Linked DNA regions of Homo sapiens: region 2 is linked to region 1. Evidence: promoter capture Hi-C in 16 types of primary human blood cells and fetal thymus (Javierre and others, 2016). All regions are on one chromosome and are shown on one strand. Each heading gives the region's core, a stretch centred on a gene start or on the middle of the fragment in contact. The rest is flanking DNA. Distances are from core to core; before and after follow the strand shown. Region 1 holds the start of PLSCR5 (phospholipid scramblase family member 5). Region 2 has its middle 91 kb from the start of PLSCR4.

Region 1 (4,330 bases), core at 521-3,020:
ATATTACTTTCCAGTCACAAGTTTCTTCAAAGACTCAGACAACCAGATGAAGAAGGAACTCCTTTGAATTTCGTACTGGCTTTGAATTTCTATCTACTCTTTTAAAAATGTATAACTAGCTTATAAATATTTTATACACTCTGCAACTTTTTACCTTACAGTCTACAGTATTGCTGTAACTCTTATTTTATAAAGTGATGAAGTATTTTGGACTAAATAGTAGTGTCAGTCTTAAATGAAAGGAAATATTTGTCAAGGTTTTTTGTTTATTTGTCTTCAGATAGAAAAAAATGACACATATGTTAAATTCATGATTTTGCTATTTCACATCTATGTTTTACAATTTGTGTGAGCTTTCTCAGTGATTCTGAGGGACTGAGGGACTGGTCTACATTAAAGATTGATAAAAAATGGAAAGATTATCTCATTTGTTTCATATTAAATAGTGACCAAAAGTGTGTTTTGATAAAGGAAGCAAGTAAGCATACACATTTGTTTGAATGGATCACTAATTTAGGATATTACAAATTGATGAGCCCTATTATCCTATTTGTAATTAATTTAAAAGGTTTTCACCAATTATACTAATTATAATTCTTCATGCTAAAACTTTTCATTATAGCCTAGGCTTTAGTGGTTCATTCTGACAATGAAATGAAAGCACATTATAATTTTATTTCTTACACAGTTTCACAAGTGTTTTTAGTGAGATTGCAACTTACTTTAAAAACAACTACATCTCTTGTCTTTTTAGACCTTCTTTAAAGTAAGATAACGTAATGATATTTTTGCAGTTTTAGGAATTTGAGAAAAAACTCATCAGTCCTACTCCCCAAAAGTCTGCTAAGTGATCTGTGCGCTTAAAGCAGATATTTTCTGTTTGTTTTCTATCTTTAATTTACCATAAGGAAATTTCAAGATATTTTTGCTTTATAATTCAGAAATACTTATTTCTAGCCCATCACATTTAAGAATCAATAATAACGCATGTCAGATTCTTTATAATAAATGGCTATATCACATAATTTGAATAACAAATGGGAAAATAAAACTTAGAGAGTGTAACTGGATTGTCTGTAACTCAAAGGCTGAATGCTTGATGGGATGGATATCCCATTCCCCTTTATGTCCTTAATTCACATTGCCTGCTTGTATGAAGACATCTCATGTATCCCATAAGTATATATACCTACTATGTACCCACATAAATTTTTAATATTTTAATTAAAAAAATTATTAAATTGCACTTTAACACTTTCTAACTTATGTGTGAAAAGTTTTCTTCAAATCCTTTTAAACTTAAAATATCACCCTGTCCTTGTGTTTAACATTGAAGATTCCCATTCTAAACTTTGCTATGCAGCTTTTCTTATTAATTCACTATGTTTGTATTCATGATAACTAAAACATCGTTTACATCTGAACTTTTACAGTCTGTCAGATAAAGTGTTTTTACATGTAACTCAACATGCTCCTGGGAGTTAAGATTTTAAAATCACAATGTTCAAAAGTGACAAATGACAGCTTTTAAAGTACCAATCTAACTGGTTGTAACACATCCACAATTGTATATTTTTAGTCTTAATATAAGAAAAAGTTATTAGTTGGTTATATTTACTCTTACCTTTAGAGGCCATGAAGATGTCTGAGTCACTTCTTCAAAGGTTGCCAGGTTGGAAAACAAAGGCTTTTCTTGTTGCAGCAAGGAGAGAAAACGCAGCATGCACAAAACTTCAGAACGTGTTTGTCTGCCTCTTGTCAGCTTACATATAACAGAGGAAGGGAGTCCCTTGCTGTTTCTAGACTTCTGGACTTTATCAGTTTGGACAACAGAGTGAGATGAAACTGTCACAAAAGTAAACGCTGTTCAGAAACCATCATATAACTTTGGTGGCTGAAGGAACAATTTAAAAATAATAAAAACCAGAAAGGAAAGCACACAGCACTCATTTTAAGTGTCTTTTTTTTTTTTACCAAGTTGTTTTTGTATTTCTTAGAATATACACATTTGCATTCAGTCTTATATCAGAAATATCCTGTATTTCTCAATTTCTAGAAGTCTCCTTTCCAGATTCTGTGATAAAACATCCTATTGTATAAATTTTTGATAGTTCTAAATACAATTCTTTACATGTTGAAAATGTTTGAACATTATTATTGTTATTTTTCTATTGGATTTATCTCCATCTCTTCAACTCAAAATAAATAAGAAGAGGATATATTCCCTACTATTATATAAATAAATCTTTATTTTCATTTTTAATTGAATTTGATTAATCAGAGGCATTGGAATATACAAACCTTCAATAGCCTTGCAAAGCTAATCAAAATTTACAGATGATATTTAACTGCATTGAATTCTAAGGAAAGAAAACAAGTGCTGTAACCTTGACTGGACAGCTCCTATTTCTAAATGCAGCTACCCAGGTGACCATGGAGATTTTGCTCACCAAGTCAATTGCCCTACATGGTATGATTCACAAAGGTTGAACATGCAGGATATATTGCATTATCAGCAACACTGTCTTTTTCTGAAAATAGTTAAGAGGCTTCAGGAGGTATACCTTGTGATGAAAAATTATAAAGTCAACCTCACAGTTTGCAGACTGCCAAAAGTTTGAGTTTTCCTTATTTGACAAAGAGGAGTGGTTTTGTTGTTGTAGTTTTCTTAGTGTTTGGAGTTGAAAAAAGCTACCATTATTTAAGTTGTCGTTTTGCAGAAAAGATGTGTGAATATGATTAATATTTTTAAATTAAACTGTATGTTTCCTAAGTTTTTTCTAATGTTTGTCGTGAGCATTTAGAAAAACTTTAATACAAAAAATTAAGTTATTAACACTATCAAAGAAGATTAAAAAAATTTTTTTTATTATACTCTAAGTTCTACGGTACATGTGCACAACGTGCAGGTTTGTTACATATGTATACATCTGCCATGTTGGTGTGCTGCACCCATTAACTCATCATTTACATTAGGTACATCTCCTAATGCTATCCCTCCCCTCTCCCCCCACCCCACAACAGGCCCCGGTGTGTGATGTTCCCCTTCCTGTGTCCATGTGTTCTCACTGTTCAATTCCCACCTGTGAGTGAGAACATGCGATGTTTGGTTTTCGGTCCTTGCGATAGTTTGCTGAGAATGATGGTTTCCAGCTTCATCCATATCCCTACAAAGGACATGTACTCATCATTTTTTATGGCTGCATAGTATTCCATGGTGCATATGTGCCACATTTTCTTAATCCAGTCTATCATTGTTGGACATTTGGGTTGGTTCCAAGTCTTTGTATTGTGAGTAGTGCGCAATAAACATACGTGTGCATGTGTCTTTGCTCAGCAAAAGGAACTACCATCAGAGTGAACAGGCAACCTACAGGATGGGAGAAAATTTTTGCAATCTACTCATCTGACAAAGGGCTAATGTCCAGAATCTACAAAGAACTCAAACAAATTTACAAGAAAAAAACAAGCAACCCCATCAAAAAGTGGGTGAAGGATATGAACAGACACTTCTCAAAAGAAGACATTTACGCAGCCAACAGACACATGAAAAAATGCTCATCATCACTGGTCATCAGAGAAATGCAAATTGAAACCACAATGAGATATCATCTCACACCAGTTAGAATGGTGATCATTAAAAAGTCAGGAAACAACAGGTGCTGGAGAGGATGTGGAGAAATAAGAACACTTTTACACTGTTGGTGGGACTGTAAACTAGTTCAACCATTGTGGAAGACAGTGTGGCAATTCCTCAGGGATCTAGAACTAGAAATACCATTTGACCCAGCCATCCCATTACTGGGTATATACCTAAAGGAATATAAATCATGCTGCTATCAAACAAGATGTTTTGAAATGTGGTCAGAATTCACCAGTTAATTTTGACTGCCCTACACAGCACAAATTTTGGAATAAAAATAAAAATCTTAGTGAATTAAACATATTTGTGAACTCTCCAAAGACAACCATATATGACTTGGGCATATGATGACATGGGCATATGACTGACTGATGGGATCTTTTAATATTTAATCTGCAGTGGAGGCTTTTCAGATCATCGAACCTGGTAATGCTACTGGTGAGGTATACTCAATGCATTTTTCTTCCCTTATGCACTCTCCCTGTCTTGCCAAAGACAATACCAATGTTTTTTTTCTTTTTAAAGGCTAAGTGTTTGCCAACCTGAGATCTCCCTTTTGTTCATTCCTTTCTTTTTCTCAGCTTTTCTCAAGGAGAGGCTCACAAAACTCTGTTTAATAGGACTCTCACATGTTTCAAGTGTCCTAACACTGTGTGTTCACGCAGCCAGGAGATGCTGCTCCACAAG
Region 2 (4,714 bases), core at 162-2,661, 260 kb before region 1:
GAAAGTCATGATAAATGAACAGAATGTTGAGGCGGGGTCAGCCCATAAAAGGGAAGAAAGTTTCGTTATTGGGAAATCACAACTTAAGCAGGGAAGGGGACTGGGGTATAACCTTATAAGGGGGATAATAAAACTTTGGTGACATCTGGGAAGATTATAACCCCATAGTAATTGACCAGTGAGGAACTGGGGGAGGGACTTGCATGCTAGGAGATAAATTAGTTGCTGTAGTTGCCCCGGATGTGCCTGCCTACCACTCGATCTTGCAAGACCGTTATTAAAACTCTTACTTTTGCTATTCTTTGTGCTTCTGAGTCCATTCTTCGGGTTTGGATGGGTGAGCGTGTTTCTCACAATAATCAAGTCTTGTCCTCATCATTTAGGGGTTCATATTTGAAATACATACAGACTTGAAAAACAAAAACCTAAAAATATAAATAAAAATAATCTTCAGTTGGTAACACTGCTGGGGCACCAGCAGAAGCAAAAGCAAACCTCTCTGAAGAGAGCACACTCTCAGACAAGACCTGCTTGGAGCCTCATGAGCTTCCAGCAATAATCCCAAACTTGAAAACACATGAATTTTCCTGAATATGATTTCCTCTATATAATTTCTGTATATAATTGTATACAAATCTTGTATACAGAAATCTCCTGTTTATAATTTCTTATGTACAATTTTTCTGTATTTTCATTCCCCTGTATGTCTGTGTTAATATATATTTTTAAATTTTTTTATTTTTTTGAGATGGAATTTCACTCTTGTTGCCCAGGCTGGAGTGCAATGGCACATTCTTGGCTCACTGCACTTTCTGCCTCCCCGGTTCAAGCAGTTCTCCTGCCTCAGTCTCCCAAGTAGCTGGGATTACAAGCATGCACCACCATGCCCAGCTAATTTTTGTATTTTTAGTAGAGATGGGGTTTCATCATGTTGGTCAGGCTGGTCTCAAACTCCTGACCTCAGGTGATCCACCCGCCTTGGCCTCCTAAAGTGCTAGGATTACAGGCATGAGCCACCATGTCCGGCCATCTGTGTTAATATTAATACATAGAGAAACCAAATATCACACAGAGATAAAAGAGTAACATGGCATAATGGTTTAGGGTGTAGCATCTAGGGCTGGCTTCAAACAGAAATATAGATAGCTTTATAAATAGATAGATAACTGAGTGGTCCTCATGCAAAATACCTCATCTAGTCTTCTCACCTCTACAATGGGAATTATCACAGTAATACATCTCATAGGCTTGCTACGAGAATTAAATGAGTTAATATACAAAAAGTAGTCAGAACCAGAACCACGCCGGCAATGTAGGAAGTAATAAAAAGGGACAGTTGTTCTTATAATTATCAGCATCACCATTATCATTACTATTATATATAACTGGTCATATTATCTCACCTATCTCATAATTAGGTAGATTTTTCTTCATACATGCCCAGATACATATCCATCTGGCAAGGAATTAAATCTTCAGGTAAACCAAGCTAGACACATCTCAAAATTACATGATTTCACATTACTGGCTTTTTTGCTAAGAAGCAGCAAAACTAAGATCTATGGTAAAATTTAATGTGCAAACATTAAGCTAACTAATTACAGTATATGTTTTGAGAAATTTACTGTTTACTCTTTGTTCTTATATGTAGGTTTTCAAAGTAAATTATTTACTTTATAAATATGTTTATGTTGCTGTACACATAGTTTGATTCCTCAGAATTCAGAACATGTCATTTGAATATATATTCTAACATATATACATGATTGAGTGAAGTGAATACGGCTTTTACCTCAGAAATGGTGCATCATGCTTATCCCAGCCCTAGAACATTTCCTACCCCTCACTTAGACATCAGTTGACTCTGACCACCAGCCCACTCATGGCAACTAGGAAAACAGGGTTAGGACATCAGCTTGCCTCACCAGGTTATCTGTGTTGTGGTGGTGGATGCAGAAATCTGAACGGCTGCTGAAATTACACAGAACTAAATATACACAGTCAAACATGAATACAAGTAAAACTGAAGAAATAAGAATAAAATCTGAATAATATTTGAGATAAATGTTCTATAAATTGGGTAAGTTTGTAATTTTGATTATCTTTTCTGCATCATAGCTTTTTTAATTTGGAAGGCTGCACTAAAAGGATTTGAGAAGACAATGCAAGTCATGAATATGAAGAAAAATTCCTAGTATAGTTAAAAGAATGAAGGATACAGGTGAAGATTCATCTCAAATATAAGGCTGTTATGATTAAAACATAATGATAGGGGAGTAAGATATCTAAGAACAACAACTAACGTTCTTTGAGTACTAGACTATCTGCCAGGTGCTGTCCTAAGCATGTAACATTAATTTACTACTTAAATCTCAAAAACTCCTATGTGATATGTACTATATCATCTCTATTTTACAATGGAGGAAATCAAAGAAAAGAGGATATTGTAATACATTGAGATTAGTAAATACTGGTACTTAATATGTCTTTTAATATCCCAGTAAACCTATGGGGTATTGTTATGCATATTTTATGTACCAGAAGATTGAAGCCCAAATCGGTTAAGTAAATTGTACAAATTTAAGTAGGTGTCATATCTAGAATTTAAACTCTGGTTGGCTGCTCCAAAACCGCTTTTCTTTTTACTATGGTAAAAGATGTTCCTAGAATGATGCAGGTTATATAAGAGTAACCAGCTTGTAATGCAGCACATCTCCATTGAAATTCTGGCACAGTCAAGTGTAATACCTTCTCAGGCACTTAATCGTTTTCAGCCACTCTTTCTTTCTCTGTAGAAAGGTGTGGGTTGTGGGGCCAGGCACGGTGGCTCACACCTGTAATCCCAGCACTTTGGGAGGCCAAGGCGGGTGGATCACAAAGTCAGGAGTTCGAGACCAGCCTGACCAATATGATGAAACCCTGTCTCTACTAAAAATACAAAAATAAGCCAGGTGTGGTGACGTGTGCCTGTAGTCCCAGCTACTCGGGAGACTGAGGCAGGAGAATCGCTTGAACCCGGGAGGCGGAGGTTGCAGTGAGCTGAGATCGTGCCACTGCACTCCAGCCTGGGTGACAGAGTAAGACTCTGTCTCAAAAGAAACAAAAAACAAAAAACAGAAAGGTGTGGGTTGTGATGAGTAGTATAAAGGTATCTGAAGTCCCTTCCAATTCTAAAAGCATATGTTTATGTTTAGCATTACCTTACCTGGTAATATGTAGGTATATTTAGATAAATGTATGTGACTATTCTATGTGAAAGGTAAATTTCTAATTGCATAGATGCAACTGACGGAATCATGATTATTGACTAAACAAGCTTAATTGTGCTTGACCCACCGATTAGCACTAAAGAGCAATAACCCACATGAAAAAGGTCTCTGTGATTTTCCTTAGGTGAGATAATTTGGTTTCCTGCCTCTCCACTACCTTCTCCCATTCTGACTGGATGAGCCAGGGAAAATCCCTTTTGTATGGAAGGAGCAAACTGCTGTGAAAAGTTGAATCAGAAGGAAACTGTGGATTGGACATTCATTGTTTGACCTCTTGCCTGGCAGAGGGGCAACAGCAGGTACATCTGAAAGGTCTCTGTATGGTCATGACTTTTCAGCCCATGCATTCAGTGATCTGGAGGATGAAGGGCCTTAATGTCCAATACACATTCCTGGTAAAGATATGTGTGTCTTCAGTTATGATGAAAACCATCTGGTCTGAGTTGTTTTTAACATCATTTCTATTATTAGTTTCAAAATGTGTCATCACTAGAAAATAAAATGAGAAAGTCATCTTTAAATTATTAGCTGTTAAGTCTGCCCTCAAGAGGTCATCATCAATCATTTCACAGGGTGTAAGGCCAAATAGCCTTTTAAAAATTTCATTTGAAACATAAACAACTGATGGGAACACCAAACTATTTCATCACCTTATAAGTATTAATATGCTTTAGAATTTAAAGTGTCTATTTTAAATTCAGTGCAAGATGATTTAAGAGTTTTCCATGTAAAAGATAAAAGTCATCTTGTATAAGGATGATTATGTCTTATATATTAACTGCATTCAGAGACTTTAATTATAAAATATTTTAATTATTTTATACATTAGAGCATAAATTATCCAGCTCAGTAAGATGATCAGGGTCACTACTAATTGCAAATAGCTCAGTAAGATGATCAGGGTCACTACTAATTGCAAATAGAAAAAGTAACCAAGAGGAGTTGAAGACCTTATGTTGCTAAATGAATGTGTAAAGCTGCTGCTTTAAGAATCAGCCACACTCTATTGATGAACAGATGTTAGGCTTCATGTTTACTGTGCTCATTTCTTCCTGCCTCTAAAACAAAGGCACCGCACTACACTTTAGCAAATCTAAATTCTGCTTGACCCTCACTAAGTCATTTCATTCCTCTGCTCTTTCTTTTCCGCATCTGTGAAAGTTAAATGATGGGTGGATAGAAGGTGTAAGTGTAAGGGGGCATTGACCAGATAATATATAAGATCCTTTTTAATCTAAGAGCTAATGATTATATAATTTGTAAATAAATCAAATTACACAAAATAATTCTCTTTTAATTTCTGGAGAACAGTGTTTTCTGTTTGAACCACTGAAAAAATGATTGCTGTAAAAAAAGTAACTGCCTGTTTAATAATGTCAATTTCCACCTGATTCAAATACTGCTGAACACTACTAAATTATATATACTTTCCAGGAGCTCCAAAT

The links. The method cuts DNA at HindIII sites, captures the fragments that hold promoters and counts their contacts. A CHiCAGO score of 5 or more calls a contact.
Region 2: a contact is called between a fragment that was not itself captured here and the fragment with the promoter of PLSCR5 in region 1, in 1 of 17 cell types (monocytes). The highest score is 5.2, in monocytes.

What each region holds. Positions count from the first base shown.
Region 1 is chr3:146,603,576-146,607,905 of GRCh38, forward strand. PLSCR5 (phospholipid scramblase family member 5) reads right to left here and starts at 1,771. Exons shown (of 8, transcript NM_001085420.2): 1 at 1,625-1,771. The coding sequence starts at 1,637. The HindIII fragment of the contact is 8,012 bases long and covers 1-4,330 here.
Region 2 is chr3:146,339,462-146,344,175 of GRCh38, forward strand. It overlaps the pseudogene PLSCR4P1. Among named protein-coding and RNA genes, the nearest start is that of PLSCR4, 91 kb to the left of the region's middle. The HindIII fragment of the contact is 3,805 bases long and covers 1-3,314 here.